Regions from separate parts of the Homo sapiens genome. Here regions 2, 3, 4 and 5 are each linked to region 1. Evidence: promoter capture Hi-C in 16 types of primary human blood cells and fetal thymus (Javierre and others, 2016). All regions are on one chromosome and are shown on one strand. Each heading gives the region's core, a stretch centred on a gene start or on the middle of the fragment in contact. The rest is flanking DNA. Distances are from core to core; before and after follow the strand shown.

Evidence for each region. Contacts are between HindIII fragments. The CHiCAGO score rates a contact against its expected background, and 5 or more counts as called.
Region 2: a fragment that was not itself captured here is called in contact with the fragment with the promoter of SIAH1 in region 1 in 1 of 17 cell types (non-activated CD4 T cells); the score reaches 5.7 in non-activated CD4 T cells.
Region 3: a fragment that was not itself captured here is called in contact with the fragment with the promoter of SIAH1 in region 1 in 2 of 17 cell types (M0 macrophages and total CD8 T cells); the score reaches 7.3 in M0 macrophages.
Region 4: a fragment that was not itself captured here is called in contact with the fragment with the promoter of SIAH1 in region 1 in 5 of 17 cell types (activated CD4 T cells, naive CD8 T cells, naive B cells and 2 more); the score reaches 7.6 in activated CD4 T cells.
Region 5: a contact is called between a fragment that was not itself captured here and the fragment with the promoter of SIAH1 in region 1, in 1 of 17 cell types (activated CD4 T cells). The highest score is 6.9, in activated CD4 T cells.

What each region holds. Positions count from the first base shown.
Region 1 is chr16:48,384,038-48,386,847 of GRCh38, reverse strand. SIAH1 (siah E3 ubiquitin protein ligase 1) reads left to right here and starts at 1,435. Exons shown (of 2, transcript NM_003031.4): 1 at 1,435-1,644. RefSeq lists silencers at 1,007-1,826, 1,927-1,996, 2,087-2,356. The HindIII fragment of the contact is 2,947 bases long and covers 849-2,810 here.
Region 2 is chr16:46,803,515-46,806,324 of GRCh38, reverse strand. The region is part of intron 3 of C16orf87 (chromosome 16 open reading frame 87); the gene reads left to right. Among named protein-coding and RNA genes, the nearest start is that of C16orf87, 26 kb to the left of the region's middle. The HindIII fragment of the contact is 3,620 bases long and covers 1-2,810 here.
Region 3 is chr16:46,874,503-46,877,312 of GRCh38, reverse strand. No RefSeq gene overlaps it. Among named protein-coding and RNA genes, the nearest start is that of GPT2, 8.5 kb to the left of the region's middle. The HindIII fragment of the contact is 1,437 bases long and covers 731-2,167 here.
Region 4 is chr16:46,951,366-46,954,175 of GRCh38, reverse strand. No RefSeq gene overlaps it. Among named protein-coding and RNA genes, the nearest start is that of DNAJA2, 21 kb to the left of the region's middle. The HindIII fragment of the contact is 851 bases long and covers 1,037-1,887 here.
Region 5 is chr16:47,149,008-47,151,817 of GRCh38, reverse strand. The region is part of intron 1 of ITFG1-AS1 (ITFG1 antisense RNA 1); the gene reads right to left. It also overlaps the pseudogene RPL23AP72. Among named protein-coding and RNA genes, the nearest start is that of ITFG1-AS1, 6.3 kb to the right of the region's middle. The HindIII fragment of the contact is 151 bases long and covers 1,297-1,447 here.

The sequences.
Region 1 (2,810 bases), core at 186-2,685:
TGGGGGCGAGAAACACATCTCACCCCAGAGCTGCTCCTCGCCCAGGACAGAACTCCTCTGCCCTTCACGACCAGGTCAAGGCCACATGGCTATGCCAAGCACATAGTCTGTAAAAATGGAAAATTTACCTCTAAACTGAAGTGAACCGAACTCTATTGACCTTCCCGTGTACTGAGGAGCTATAACTTCTCCCCAAAAATGTGAAAGTAAAATTGCAGTTTAAATCATGTAATTAGGAATACTGTAAACTAGTGTTTTGCACATATAAACTTTATCATACACTGGGAATTTGTACATACGTGCCCGGTATGGGATTTTTCTATTTTTATTTTTATTTTTTTGAGACAGAGTCTCGCTCTGTTGTCCAGGCTGGAGTGCAATGGCCTGATCTCTGCCTCACTGCAACCTCTGCCTCCCGGGTTCAAGCGATTCTCCTGCCTCAGCCTCCGAGTAGCTGGGACTACAGGCGTGCACCACCACGCCCGGCTAATTTTTGTATTTTTAGTAGAGATAGGGTTTCACCATGTTGGCCAGGCTACTCTCGAACTCCTGACCTCAGGTAATCCATCGGCCTCGGCCTCCCTAAGTGCTGGGATTACAGGCGTGAGCCACCGCGTCCGGACGGAATACCATTTTAATAGATCTTACATGGAATTCCAGTTAGGGCTTGTAAATGTCTCAGATGCTTGCTTCTGCTCATAGCACCCATCAAAGAATTGCAAGTGATGTTTTCCTTTTATTATTTCAAGAAGTGGAATGCAGAGTCCCTAATTAGGGACTTTCCAGATGAGCATGGACACAGGAAAACGCGTGCTTCCCCATTACCCACTTTTCAGCTGAAACAAGCTTTTGAAGCTCGTCCCGCTGTTGCTGAGGAGCGGCTCAACCTCGGGAGAGGCTGGGACTCTCTTTAGGGGTGGGGTCCCGGTCGGCGGGCAGGGCAGCCGCTTTTTCTTTGGGACTGAGTGGAGTTGGGAAGGATCCGTGGAGGCGCTGGGCTAAATCAGCAGACAAAACAAGGGGGAGGGCACAAGGCCGCGGCGGCGGCCAGCCTGGGGCTCGCATCCCGCTGGGCGACCCCTCCGGCCGGAGCCGGGGGGGTCACGCGGCCCCGGAACAAAGCGCCGCGGGAGGAGCTGCCCTGAGCCGACGGGCAAGCGCTAGCTTCTCGCGGGCCAGAGCGCCACGTGCCAGGATCCGTTGAATGCGCGGTGCACGGGCGCAGCAACGGTAGCCGAGTAGCCCCCGCACCTACTGCCGCCTTTGGAGACCCGCACAGCTACGCCCGCGGAGGCCGCCGCCGGCCGCGCCAACGCCTGTGCGCCTGCGCGCCCGCGAAAGCCCCGCCCCCCCAGGCTCCCAGCGCGCGGGGCCGCGCCTCCTCATGGCCGCCGCCGCAGTGTGTGGTATTTAGCGGGGGCGCGCGGCGGGCTCGAGGACGCGCGAAACGGCGGCGGCGGCGGCGGCCAGGGGGGAGCCGGGGCGGCCGTTGCGGGGCGCGCTCTCGAGAGGCGGCGGCGGCCCAGGGTGTCCCGTCGGTCTCGGCGCCGGGAAGAGGCGGTGGCGCTGCCCGCGGTGGCGGGGGTTGGCGACGGAGCGCGTTGGTGCCAGGACCGGGGTCCGAGGCGCGCTCTCCGCCCACAGGTAAGTGGGGCCCGGCCTGAGGGAGGAGCCGGCGGCGAGGGGCTCTCCGACAGGCGGGCGCCCAGGCCCGGTAATGGCGGAGGGCGGGAAGGGCGGCCCGGCCGGGGCGCGGGCAGTAGTCGGCGCGGCGGCGCCTTTGTCTCGGCCGGAGTCGGGCCGCCCGGTCGAGCGCCGCCCCCCGCCCCTCCCCTGCCTTCAGCCTTCGCAAGCCGGCTCGCCCCCGCCCCTGGAGCCCCGGGCCCGGCGGGGTGGCGGCGGGGGTCGGCCCCGCGCGGCCGGGCCGAGGGCGGGGGAAGGGCCTCGGCGGCGGCCCGGCCCCCGCGCGCCCGGGAGGCGGGCCCGGCCGGGGGTGGCGCCCGGCGCGCCCCGCGCCCTCGTGCCGGCCTTTGTTGTGGAGGGTCCCGGGGTGTGCGGCCAACATGGCGGAGGTCAGCTGAGTGCGGGCAGCTGCCGGGGCCCTGCCCTCCCTCCCCCTCCTCCCCGCGGCGCCCGGAGGCCCGGGCCGCACCGCGCCGCTCGGCGGGCCTCGGCCTCCGCTCTCTGCCCCCGACCCCCGGCTGGAGCCGTCCGGGACGGGGCTGCGCTCTTCCTGCCGCTTCGGCCGGAGGCTTCATTGTGCAGTGGGAAGAATGCAGCCTCCTCCCTTGTTTATGTCGTTAGAGAGGAGAGCGCGTGAACGGCGTGCCGGGGAAGCTCTAGCTTATTATAAACCTGGCATTTCCTAGGGTTCATTTGCCGGGTAGTTTGGGGTCCTTTCTTAACTCTCCCAAATTTATAACTTAAAGTGAATAACCTGGGCCACTCCGATGCGTAGGTTCGTTTTCGCTGTCTGCCCGTTCCTGGAAAGATACATAATTTGTTTGCTCGGACATTCAGAAAAGTCCAGCTTGGGTGTTCGGAAAATCAGATTGTGTGTACTTCTTTTGCCAAAGTCATAGAGGCCATAAACAAACAGAGAGACATGGATACTGGATATGGGACGGTGTTCTGACTGTCCCTTCCTAGCAGTTGAGCATTTACCTTTGCTTATAGCGGCTGTCAAGGGTAAATTGTTAACTCTTCAGCAGTTGGATGTTGAGAGCACGGGCTGTGAAGTCCGACTGTCTGCTTTGGGTCAAATCCTGCTCCACTGGTTTGTGACCTTGGGCAGATACTTCTCTGTGCTT
Region 2 (2,810 bases), core at 130-2,629, 1.6 Mb after region 1:
GATCGCGTCACTGTGCTCCAGCCTGGAGACAGAGCGAGACTCCGTCTCAAAAAAAAAAAAAAAAAAAAATGAATGTAGACTTCAAGCTGAAGATTGTGGATTGAAGAAACACATCTAGCTCTAAACTCCTTTGGGGAAATCTAAGAAAGAAACTGATTTTTATTACACAGTTACCTAAAAGTCAGGAATTTGTGTATCAGTTATGTCTGGAAGTAGAAGTGAAATTGAGGCTAAAAATGAGAGGATTGTTTGCAAGTCTTTTTATGAGTAGCCCACCAGGACTGTTTACCCTCTTATCCCCCAGGTTTATCCTTTGAAAAAGGTAAATAATACAGTCTTTGGTCTCAGGAACACCAGGTGTCTGTTGACGGCCAGGATACCATGTTAAGATCAGGAAGCCTAGGTGAAAATTGGACATAGTAAATGCTGAGTTCTTGAGTTTGGCTTATTAGCGTCCAGGTAAAAAAAGTAAAAAAGTTTGAACATATCTTCTCTAGAGAATCCGAAGGACCCAAGAGAAAAGGCCCCAAATAAAGATACTCTCATTAGAGATTCACAGAGAAGTGGCCTAATTGGATCATCCTAATCTGATGACTACAGTCAAGCTCCACGTATGTGTATGTTTCTAATCAGCTTCTTTGGTCACTCTCCTAAATATGAGCATATTGCCAAGAATTACCCAGATATCTGGAAGAAAGCATCTATTATAGTATGAAAGGCTAAGACCAAATCAACAGGAGAGAAAAAATAACTTGGAAAAAAGCAAGATTTTGCAGGGAAAAGAAAAACTATAAACTACTATTAATATCTTTAGCAAAAGAAGCAATTGTAATTGTAAAATGAACAAGGTGATATTTAAAAGGAAATTGCAGAGGTCAAAAAGCCAGTTGGAAAATGAACTTTAAAATATTCCAAAAAACCCCAAAACATAGATGATACACAGAAATGAACAACTTTAATAAAAGGCTTAAAGATAAAATTGAAGAAAGGTTCCAGAAACTATAACAATTGAAAAGAGATGGAAAAAACAGAATGGAAACCTTAAGAAATTTAGAGGACCAGTATGAGGTCTGACATCTGTAAATAATTAAAGTTTCAGATAAGGAACATGGAAGATGGAGGAGAAGGAAGTCATCAACGACTTTAACAATGACAATTATTTATTCAAGAAAATTTTTCCAACCTGAAGGACATTGAGTTTCTTTGTTAAAAGGGCCTACAAATTCCCAGTCTAAAAAGAGAAATGATGGTTAAAAAGAGAAATTATACCAGAGTTCGTCATCATATCTCATATCTTTGGTTAAATAAAATTTTTCAGGTTTTCAGAAAAAAGAAAAGCAAAATGATATTGGAACTAATACAATGCAATATTGCCCAGCAAAGAACAAACTACTGATATATGACTAGCATCAATGAATTTCAAAAACATGTTGAGCAAAATAAGCTAGGCACAAAAGAGTACATACTATATATGATGCCATTTATATGAAGTTTAGGAACAGACAGAATGATTCTGTGGTAATAGAAATCAGAACAGTGGTTGCTTGTAGGTGTAGAGAGGGATTGGCTGGAAAGAAGCATGAGGAATTTCTGGAGGAAATTTGTTATATGTTGATTGTGACATGGGTTACATGTTTGTATATGTTTGTCAGAACTCCTCCAGTTGAACACATAAAAGATCTGTGTATTCACTATATGTAAATTTATCATTGATTTTAAAAATAACTATAAAAAAGGTATTGGTTTTCTCAACAATGGCACCAGTAGTCAGAAGACAGTTTACTGCCTTCACAGTTCTAAGCGGAAACCTACAAGTCTATACTCAATCAAACTATGAATTAATGTGAAGGTAGACTAAAGATATTTTCTGACATTCAGGGTCTCAAAAAATTTGCTACCAATACTGCCTTTCTCAGGAAGCCCCTACAAGTTACCTGCTACCAAAATGAAGAAATAAACCAAGAAAGGATCTTTGGATTCAAGACAAAGGTGGGTCCACCCAACTCTAGAGATGAGAGTCTCCAGCATGATGCTGATGAAAGAGCACAAGATGATAATTTTGCAGTAGGCCTAGAGAGCAATCATTTCATACTGGAGCAGGTTGGAAGACTTGGAGCGATTTCTTCAAGAAGATAAAAATGATAAAATACCTGATACGTGTAAACATCCTGAAAAACAATTTATACAACTAGGAAAGACATTGGGTTGAGTTAGAAATGAAAACTAAGCAAGTAAAAAGAGAATCACTTCAGGGAAAACAATGTAAAGGAAAAGTGAAAAATCACTTACCATAGGCATAATAATGTAATCACTGAAAACTGATGTTACTAAAGTTGTGATTTAATTATAGTGAGAAGATGAGGGATGGGCAGAGTGTTTATTGGGGCAAGAGATGCAAAACAGTGTAACCCTTATTTTCCCTGGTGGAAAGTGAATCAGTAATGCCTAAAACCCTGAAGTAGCATCTTGTACAAATGTTACTTAGAGATTTGTTTTTGTAAAAGCAAAAAGGAACAACTGAAAAAAAAAGTCACAAAAAAAGTAGTTGCATTTGGAGAGTGGAAAATGTGTATGGGGCAAAGGACTTCTGTTTTTTTTTTTTAACAAGTTTTATAAAAATGATTTGATTGTAAATTATATGCATTTAACTTTGATTAGACTGTCAAAACAAAATAAACAAAAATAGAATCAGGGGATCCTGAAAAAGTAACTTGGAAGAATATACACCAAGATGTTAATTGTGATTTTTGCTGACTCATGAGATTACGAGTGATTTTTATTTTCTTTTTCAAATTTTCTGTGAACTTGGA
Region 3 (2,810 bases), core at 200-2,699, 1.5 Mb after region 1:
ATGGGGTTTCATCGTGTTAGCCAGGATGGTCTTGATCTCCTGACCTCATGATCTGCCCGCCTCAGCCTCCCAAAGTGCTGGGATGACAGGCATGAGCCACCACGCCTGGCCCATGTTTTTCTTTCTAAATGAAGGCCTCATTTTTTTTTGTTTGTTTGTTTTTACATAGAGACAAGTTTTTGCCATGTTGCCCAGGCTGGTCTTGAACTCCTGGACTCAAGGGATCCGCCCGCCTTTGCCTCCCAAAGTGCTGGGATTACAGGTGTGAGCCACTGTGCCCGGCCTTCTTTTTTTTTTTTTTTAATTTAAGTCAGGCTCAAGTTTTTAGGGGATGGTCAGGGAAATTTCGTTGAGATCCTACTTGCTCTGAGTCTCCTTGAAGCAAATCATTGCCTCTAACAAGCAAATATTAGTTTAGGTGAGCTAATAGCCGGGACACATGTATCCCAATGCTCTCACCATGACGTTCAAAGTGGATTAAAGATAAACTTATGATACTAAGCTAAGCTATACACAAACAAGGGACACATTCTTATGTAACTTACAGAGGTTAAAACTGAGTAAAGACATTTTACAAAAGTGGTGTTTACAATTCAGTACTGCATTGATAACATTTCAAAGCACTGGCAGGCACGTTTCGGTCTTGGCAGTGCACTCAACCAAATCCAGGTGGTTTCGGAGAATGAGGAGAGGCTGGAAGAGCTGTAGCGAATGAACAATTGTATAAGCTTCATGAGCAAATAAAACCTTTCATTCAGAGGGTGTTTGTTGTTCCATATTCCTTGATTTCTTGCTTCCTGATCTTTAGGGATCTGAGGACTCTTATTTGCGCCATGGAAGACATATGGAAACAATTTCAGAAACACCCCAAGGGACTAATAGAATCCTTATCTGCAAACTCAAGTGATTTCAGCTGTTGAATGTGCTAAAACACAGACAAAATATTAAGCAATGGCTCAAATCAGTATTTCCAAAAGGTTTACTTATCTAGTTTTCCTAGATATTTTCATAAAGCCACAGAATTTTTCAACTAGAGAAGCTCACAAAATAGTTTTGGGACCTAGAAACAGGAGAAAAAAATAATCATACAATACCATAAGCCCTATGCTTTGTAGTTCTCATTTATTCTTTTTGTTTTTGTTATTTTTGAGACACAGTCTCACTGTGTCGCTCAGGTTGGAATGCGATGGTGCGATCTCGGCTCATTGCAACCTCTGCCTCCTGGAGTCAGGTGATTCTCCTGCCTCAGCCTCCTGAGTAGTTGGGATTACAGGTGCCCACCACCATGCCCAGCTAATTTTTGTGTTCTTTCAATAGAGACGGGGTTTCACCATGTTGGCCAGGCTGGTCTCGAACTCCTGACCTTAAGTGATCCACCCACCTCGGCCTCCCAAAGTGCTGGGATTATAGGCGTGAGCCACTGCGCCCGGCCTATACTTTTATTTTTTTGAATTCTAGTTTTTTTGGTATCTTTTCTTTTCTTTGCTTTCTTTTTTTCTTTTTCTTTTTGTTTTAGATGGAGTCTTGCTCTGTTGCCTAGGCTGGAGTGCAGTGGCATGATCTCGGCTCACTGCAACCTCCGCCTCCCGGGTCAAGCAATTCTCCTGCCTCAGCCTCTTGAGTAGCTGGGATTATAGGCACGCACCACCACATCCAGCTAATTTTTGTATTTTTAGTAGAGACAGGGTTTCACCATGTTGGCCAGGCTGGTCTTGAATTCCTGACCTCGTGATCCACCCGCCTCGGCTGCCCGAAGTGCTGGGATTACAGGCGTGAACCACTGCACCCGGCCTCTATTTTTTGTTTTTTTTTAGAGGTAGGGTCTTGCTCTGTTGCCCAGGCTGGAGCAGTGACATGATCCTGGCTCCCTGCAGCCTCGAACTCCTGGGCCCAAGCAATTCTCCTATCTCAGCCTCCTGAGTAGCTGGCACTATAGGAGTTTGCCACCATACCTGGCTGATTTTTTATGTTTAATTTTTAGAGACAGGGTCTTGCCATGTTGCCCAGGTTGGTTTCAAACTCCTAGGCTCAAGTGATACTCCCGCCTCAGTCTCCTAAAGTGTGAATTCTAGTTCTTATTCATTCTTCAGAAGAAACGGGCAGAACTATTTACCTAGAGTATTATCTATGATTTGGGTTTAGCACCAGGTAGGCCTGGCACAAAGCTTTCTTTTTTTTTTTTTTCCTTCAACTTTTATTTTAAGTTCTGGGGTACATGTGCAGGACGTGCAGGTTTGTTATATAGGTAAACATGTGCCATGGTTGTTTGCTGCACAGATCAACCCATCACCTAGGTGTTAAGCCCAGCATCCATTAGCTATTCCTCCTTATGCTCTCTTTCCATCCCACCCCCAGCTTTATTAATAATAATATTATATAACATTTATAGGTAATATTTATTAGACTTTTAAAATATATTTTCTTAATAGAAATGGGGTTTTGCCATGTTGCCCAGGCTGGTCTCAAACTCCTGAGCTTTAAGCCATCCTCCTGCCTTGGCCTCCCAAAGTGCTGGGATTACATACAGGCATTGAGCCACTGCACCTGGACTTTTGGACTTTTTTTTTTTTTTTTTTGAGACAGTCGTGCTCTGTTGCCCAGGCTGGAGTGCAATGGCATGATCTTGGTTCACTGCAGCCTCCACCTCCCCAGTTGAAGCGATTCTTTTGTTTGTTTGTTTGTGTTTGAGATGGAGTCTGGCTCTGTCGCCCAGGATGGAGTGCAGTGACGCAATCTGGGCTCACTGAAGGCTCCGCCTCCCGGGTTCACGCCATTCTCCTGCCTCAGCCTCCCGAGTAGCTAGGACTACA
Region 4 (2,810 bases), core at 213-2,712, 1.4 Mb after region 1:
TTTGTAAAACCTTTTTCTAAAATCATAATTGAGGCTGGGCATGGTGGCTCGTGCCTGTAATCCTAGTACTTTGGGAGGCCCAGGCAGAAGGACAGCTTGAGCCCAAGAGTTCAAGACCAGCCTGGGAAACATAGAGATCCCATCTCATAATTTTTTTTTTTTTTTTTTGAGACGGAGTCTTGCTCTGTTGCCCAGACTGAAGTGCAGTGGCGCAATCTCAGCTCACTGCAACCTCCACCTCCCGGGTTCAAGCAATTCTCCTGCCTCAGCCTCCCAAGTAGCTGGGACTACAGGCGCGTGCCACTACGCCTGGCTAATTTTTGTATTTTTTAGTAGAGACGGGGTTTCACCATGTTAGCTAGCATGGTCTCGATCTACTGACCTCAGGTTATCTGCCCACCTTGGCCTCTCAAAATGCTGGGATTACAGGTATGAGCCACTGTGCTCGGCCATCAAAAGTCTTGTAAATAATCTTCAGTTGCAAAAGATTTCGTAAAATTAGGAAGCCCACATCACCTGGCACAGACTTCTAGGGAACATTTTAAGTATGGTTGGTTATTTTTAATTTCCAAAAGAAGTTCAGTTAAATCTCTGGTCAAAGTGAACCATTAGCCAGTGCCACTGTGAGTCAAGCTAAACACGTTAGAAAACCTGACTTCTGCTGAGCGCAGTGGCTCACGCCTGTAATCCCAGCACTTTGGGAGGACCAGGCAGGCGGATCATGAGGACAGGAGATCGAGACCATCCTGGCTAACACGGTGAAACCCCGTCTCTACTAAAAATACAAAAAAATTAGCCGGGCATGGTGGCACACACCTGTGGTCCCAGCTACTTGGGAGGCTGAGGCAGGAGAAGCTTGAACCCACGAGGCAGAGGGTGCAGTGAGCCAAGATTGCACCCCTGAACTCCAGCCTGGGCAACAGAGCGAGACTTTGTCCCAAAAAAAGAAAGAAAACCTGACTTCCCAGCTATAGGAAGAAAAGAACCTGAGAAAGCTTATACCAGTGGTGGGTTGAGAATCTTCAGTGATGAAGCTTACCATTCTATGTGTGAATAGGTATCCCCTTTCATAATCTACAAATAGTATACAAATTATTTTTTTCTGTTAGGAAAGCAATACATGATCGTTAAAAAAACATAGAACTATCGACTTTAAAAAATTAATCTCCCCCAATCCAAATCATGTGCTCATGAGACTATCAACACAAAGTTGGTTTTTTGTTTTTGTTTTTGTTTTGTTTCATTTTGTTTTTTTCTTGAGACGGAGTCTCCCTCTGTCACCCAGGCTGGAGTGCAGTGGTGCAGTCTTGGCTCACTGCAACCTCTGCCTTCTGGGTCCCAGCGATTCTCCTGCCCAGCCTCCTGAGTCGCTGGGATTACAGGCATGCGCCACCACGGCTGGCTAGATTTTTGTGTTTTTGTAGAGACGGGTTTTCACTATGTTGGCCAGGCTGGTCTTTAATTCCTGACCTCAAGTGATCTTCCCGCCTTGGCCTCCCAAAGTGCTGGATTACAGGTGTGAGCCACCACGCCCGGCCTTGGTCTTTTTTTTTGTTTTTAATACATATAGAACTAAATTTTCCAACCTGTTCCCAGATGCAATCATTTTTACCAATTTCTCACATGTGTGTATGCAAAAATGGGATAAAATAACTTATTTTTACAACTTTTGGTCTTATTATTCCTTTGGCATATTTGCATAGTAATACATAAAGATCTATTTTTAATGATTTTAAAGTTCTGTTGTTTGAATGAACCATTTCCTACCTATTGATAGATGTTCGAATTGTTTCCAGTTATTACAAACAATGCTGTGGGTAACAGCTTCATACATATGTCGTTGTGCATTTGTACACAATGCTTCAAACCAGATTACAAAGTTAAGCTTCTAGTGCATAGAACGCTGGCATATAGTAGAACCTAAATAAATATTTATGAATGAAGGAAGTGCTTCTTGACCTCTTAAACCAAATCTAAGATCTGGAAGATCTGAAATAATGATCTAAATCCCTGCAAAGGAGCTCTAGAAAAAACAATACATCCCTGTTAGCACATGAGGATTAGGGGACAGAACCAAAATATATTTTACAAGAATATAGTGCAACACGGTTGGGCACTGATTTCTTAACTTCTTCACCACAAGGACCTCATGCAGGAATATTTTGCTTGGCAAACAAGTAATGATTACTTACATTTTTACTTTTTTTTTTTTTCTTTTAATGGAGACAGGGTCTCATGCTCACCGGACTGGAGTGCAGTGACACAAACAAAGCTTACTGTAGCCTCGACCTCCTGGGCTCCAGTGATCCCCCTGCCTCAGCCTCCTGTGTCACTGGGACCACAGGTACGTGCCGCCATGCCTGGCTAATGTTTTTACCTATTTAGGCACAATTTTAAGTCCTGAAAGCTATGATGTGACTCACAGCAAAATCAAGCCTATAAAATGGGGATCTATGTTTAAAAGGGGATCTACTTAATTTTAGAGAACGCAAGATTTAGTGAAGGAGAATGCCTGTATAGACACCTCCTGAAAAAATACAGGTATTCTTGTAGGGAAACATCCACCCGAAGACAGCCCAGTACCAAGCTTTATGTGCTAATCCTGATGTCATTGGGAAGCTGGGTTCCCCTGTTGGCAACTGATTCCAGCTGGACTCATTTACAATGTTCTGGCCTTGCCCAGGCATCTAAAGCTCGATTCCAGAGAGCTCACTGGGAGAGTTGAGCTGTTCCCTCTGAAGGTATAGCCTGTCCCTAGCCCCAAGCCCTCCTGATTCCCAGGCTTTCCAAACAAGCCTGTTAATGTGGGT
Region 5 (2,810 bases), core at 123-2,622, 1.2 Mb after region 1:
GAAATTTTAAAATATTTTGAGCCAAATGAAAAATACAATGTAACAAAATTTGTAGGAGGCAGTGCTGGGGGGTGGTATTTATAACACTAAATGCACATATTAACAAAGAAGAAAGGTGATGAAAGAAACCAAGGAAGACTTCAATGGAAAGACAGTGTGTTCATGGATTAGGAGATGCCAGTACTCCCCAAAGTGATCTGTACATTTCACACCATCCCTATCAAAATCCCAGCAGTATCTTTTTGTGGACATGGACAGGATTTTGTGCAACTTATATGAAAGAGAAAATAAACTAGACTAGTTTAAAACAATGTTGAAAAAGAAGACAAAGTTGAAGAAATCAAACTATGTGACTTTAAAACTTATTATAAAGCTTGAGTAATAAAGATAGTGTGGTATTGGCAAAGAGAGACACATAGACCAATGGAATAAAATTGAGTCCAGGAATAAACTCACACAAATATAGACATTTGATGTTTGACAAAGATGTAAAAGTTACTAAGTGGAAGACAGTCTTTTCAACAAATAGTGTCAGAACAATTGATCATCTGTATTTGCCATAAATACAAAGGGCAAAGGAGAAAAAAAGAACCTTGATCTAAACCTCACACCTTACACAAAAATTAACTCAAAGTGGGTCATAAATTCAAATATAAAATGTAAAACTATAAAACTTTAAAAGAACACATAGAATGTCTTCATAGGCTAGGGGTAAGCAGAGTTCTTAGAAATGACACCAAAGTTATGATTCTTTTTAAAAACTGATAAATGTGACTTCATCTAAATTAAAAATGTTTGCTTTGACAAAGACACTTCCAAGAGAATGGACAAGCTATATATGCAAAGAAAAAAAAATTTTTTTTTTGAGATGGAGTCTTGCTCTGTCACCCAGGCTGGAGTGCAGTGGTGTGATCTCGGCTCACTGCAGCCTCTGCCTCCCAGGTTCAAGCAATTGTCCTGCCTCAGCCTCCCAAGTAGCTGGGACTACAGGTGTGTGACACCATGCCTGGCTAATTTTTGTGTTTTTAGTAAAGATGGGGTTTCACCATGTTGGTCAGGTTGGTCTCGAACTGCTGACCTCAAGTGATCCACCCGCTTCAGCCTCCTAAAGTGCTGGGATTATAGGCATAAGCCACCATGCCCGGCCAAGAAAATATTTTCAAATCACATATCCAACAACAGACTTGTATCCTGAATCTATAAAGAACTCTCAAAACTCAACAATACAAAAACTCAGACAAGATGACACCTAAGGAAGCTCCTGCCTCTCCCAAAGCTGAAACCAAAGCAAAAGCTTTGAAGGCCAAGAAGGCAGTGCTGGAAAGCATCCACAGCCACACACAAAAAGGAGTATCTGCACTTCACCCACCTTCCAGCACCCCAAAACACTACAGCTCTAGAGACAACCCAGATATCCTCAGAAGAGTGCCCCCAGGAGAAACAAGCTTCATCACTCTGCCCGATTCCCTGAGCATTGAGTGTGCCATGAAGAAGACAGAAGATAACAACACACTTGAGGTCACCGTGGATGGCAAAGCCAACAAGCACCAGAGCAAACAGGATGTGGGGAAGCTCTGCAACACTGATGTAGCCTGATCAATCAGGCCCAATGGAGAGAAGGCGTGTGTTTGACTGGCTCCTGCTTATGATGCTTTGGATGTTGCCAACAAAATTGGAATCATCTAAACTGAGTCCAGCTGGCTAATTCTAAATGGACATCTTTTCACCAGTAAAAATAAAAAACAATTTGAGTGGGCAATAATTTGAGGATACTTCACTGAAGAGGATATATAGGTAGCAAACAAGCATATGAAAAGATGTTCAACCGGATATGCCATTAGGGAAATGAATACTAAAACTATGAAGAGATACCAATACACATCTATCATGAATAAAAAGTGCTTTCATGGATAAAACAAAGAATACTGACAATTCAAAGTGCTAATGTGGATGAGGAAAAACTAGAATTTTCATATATTGCTGGTGGGGATGCAAAATAGGAAAGCCACTCTAGAGAACAGTTTGGCACTTTCTAAAATCAATTGCATTTTTATACGCCAGCATGAACAATTAGAAAATGGGATTTAAAAACAGGTAACATTTATAACAGCATCGAAAAAGTCAAGTACCTGGGAATTAGTATAACACAAGATGTAGCATACATCTCTGTCTGGTAAATTATAAAACTTCTCTGAGAAACGCTAAGGAAATTTTCAATAAATGCACATCTGTAACCATGTTAATGGACAGGAAGACTCAAAATTGTAAAGATGTCAAAGCCCTCCCAATTCCACTCATCCCAACGGGGTGTTGTGTTGCCGAGCTTGCTAAGAGGTTTCTAAAATGTACACGGAAATATAAGAGACCAAGAACAGCCAAGACAATCTTGAAAAAGAATAAGGACCTGCTCTACCAGGTAACAAAATAATAAAGTTAGGGTGATTAGGCCAGGCATGGTGGCTCACGCCTGTAATCCCAGCACTTTGGGAGGCCGAGGCGGGTGGATCATCTGAGTTCGAGACCAGCCTGGCCAACATGGTGAAACCCTGTCTCCACTAACAATACAAAAATTAGCCGGGCGTCATGGCACAAGCCTGTAATCCCAGCTACTCGGGAGGCTTGAGGCAGGAGAATTGCTTGAACCCAAGAGGCAGAGGTTGCAGTGACCCAATCATGCCATTGCACTCCAGCCTGGACAACAAGAGCGAAACTCTGTCTCAAGAAAGAAAAAGTTAGGGTGATTAACAGAGTGCGGTATTGGTGAAGAGATAGACAGACCAATGGAACATATTAGAGAGTGCAGAGAAAGA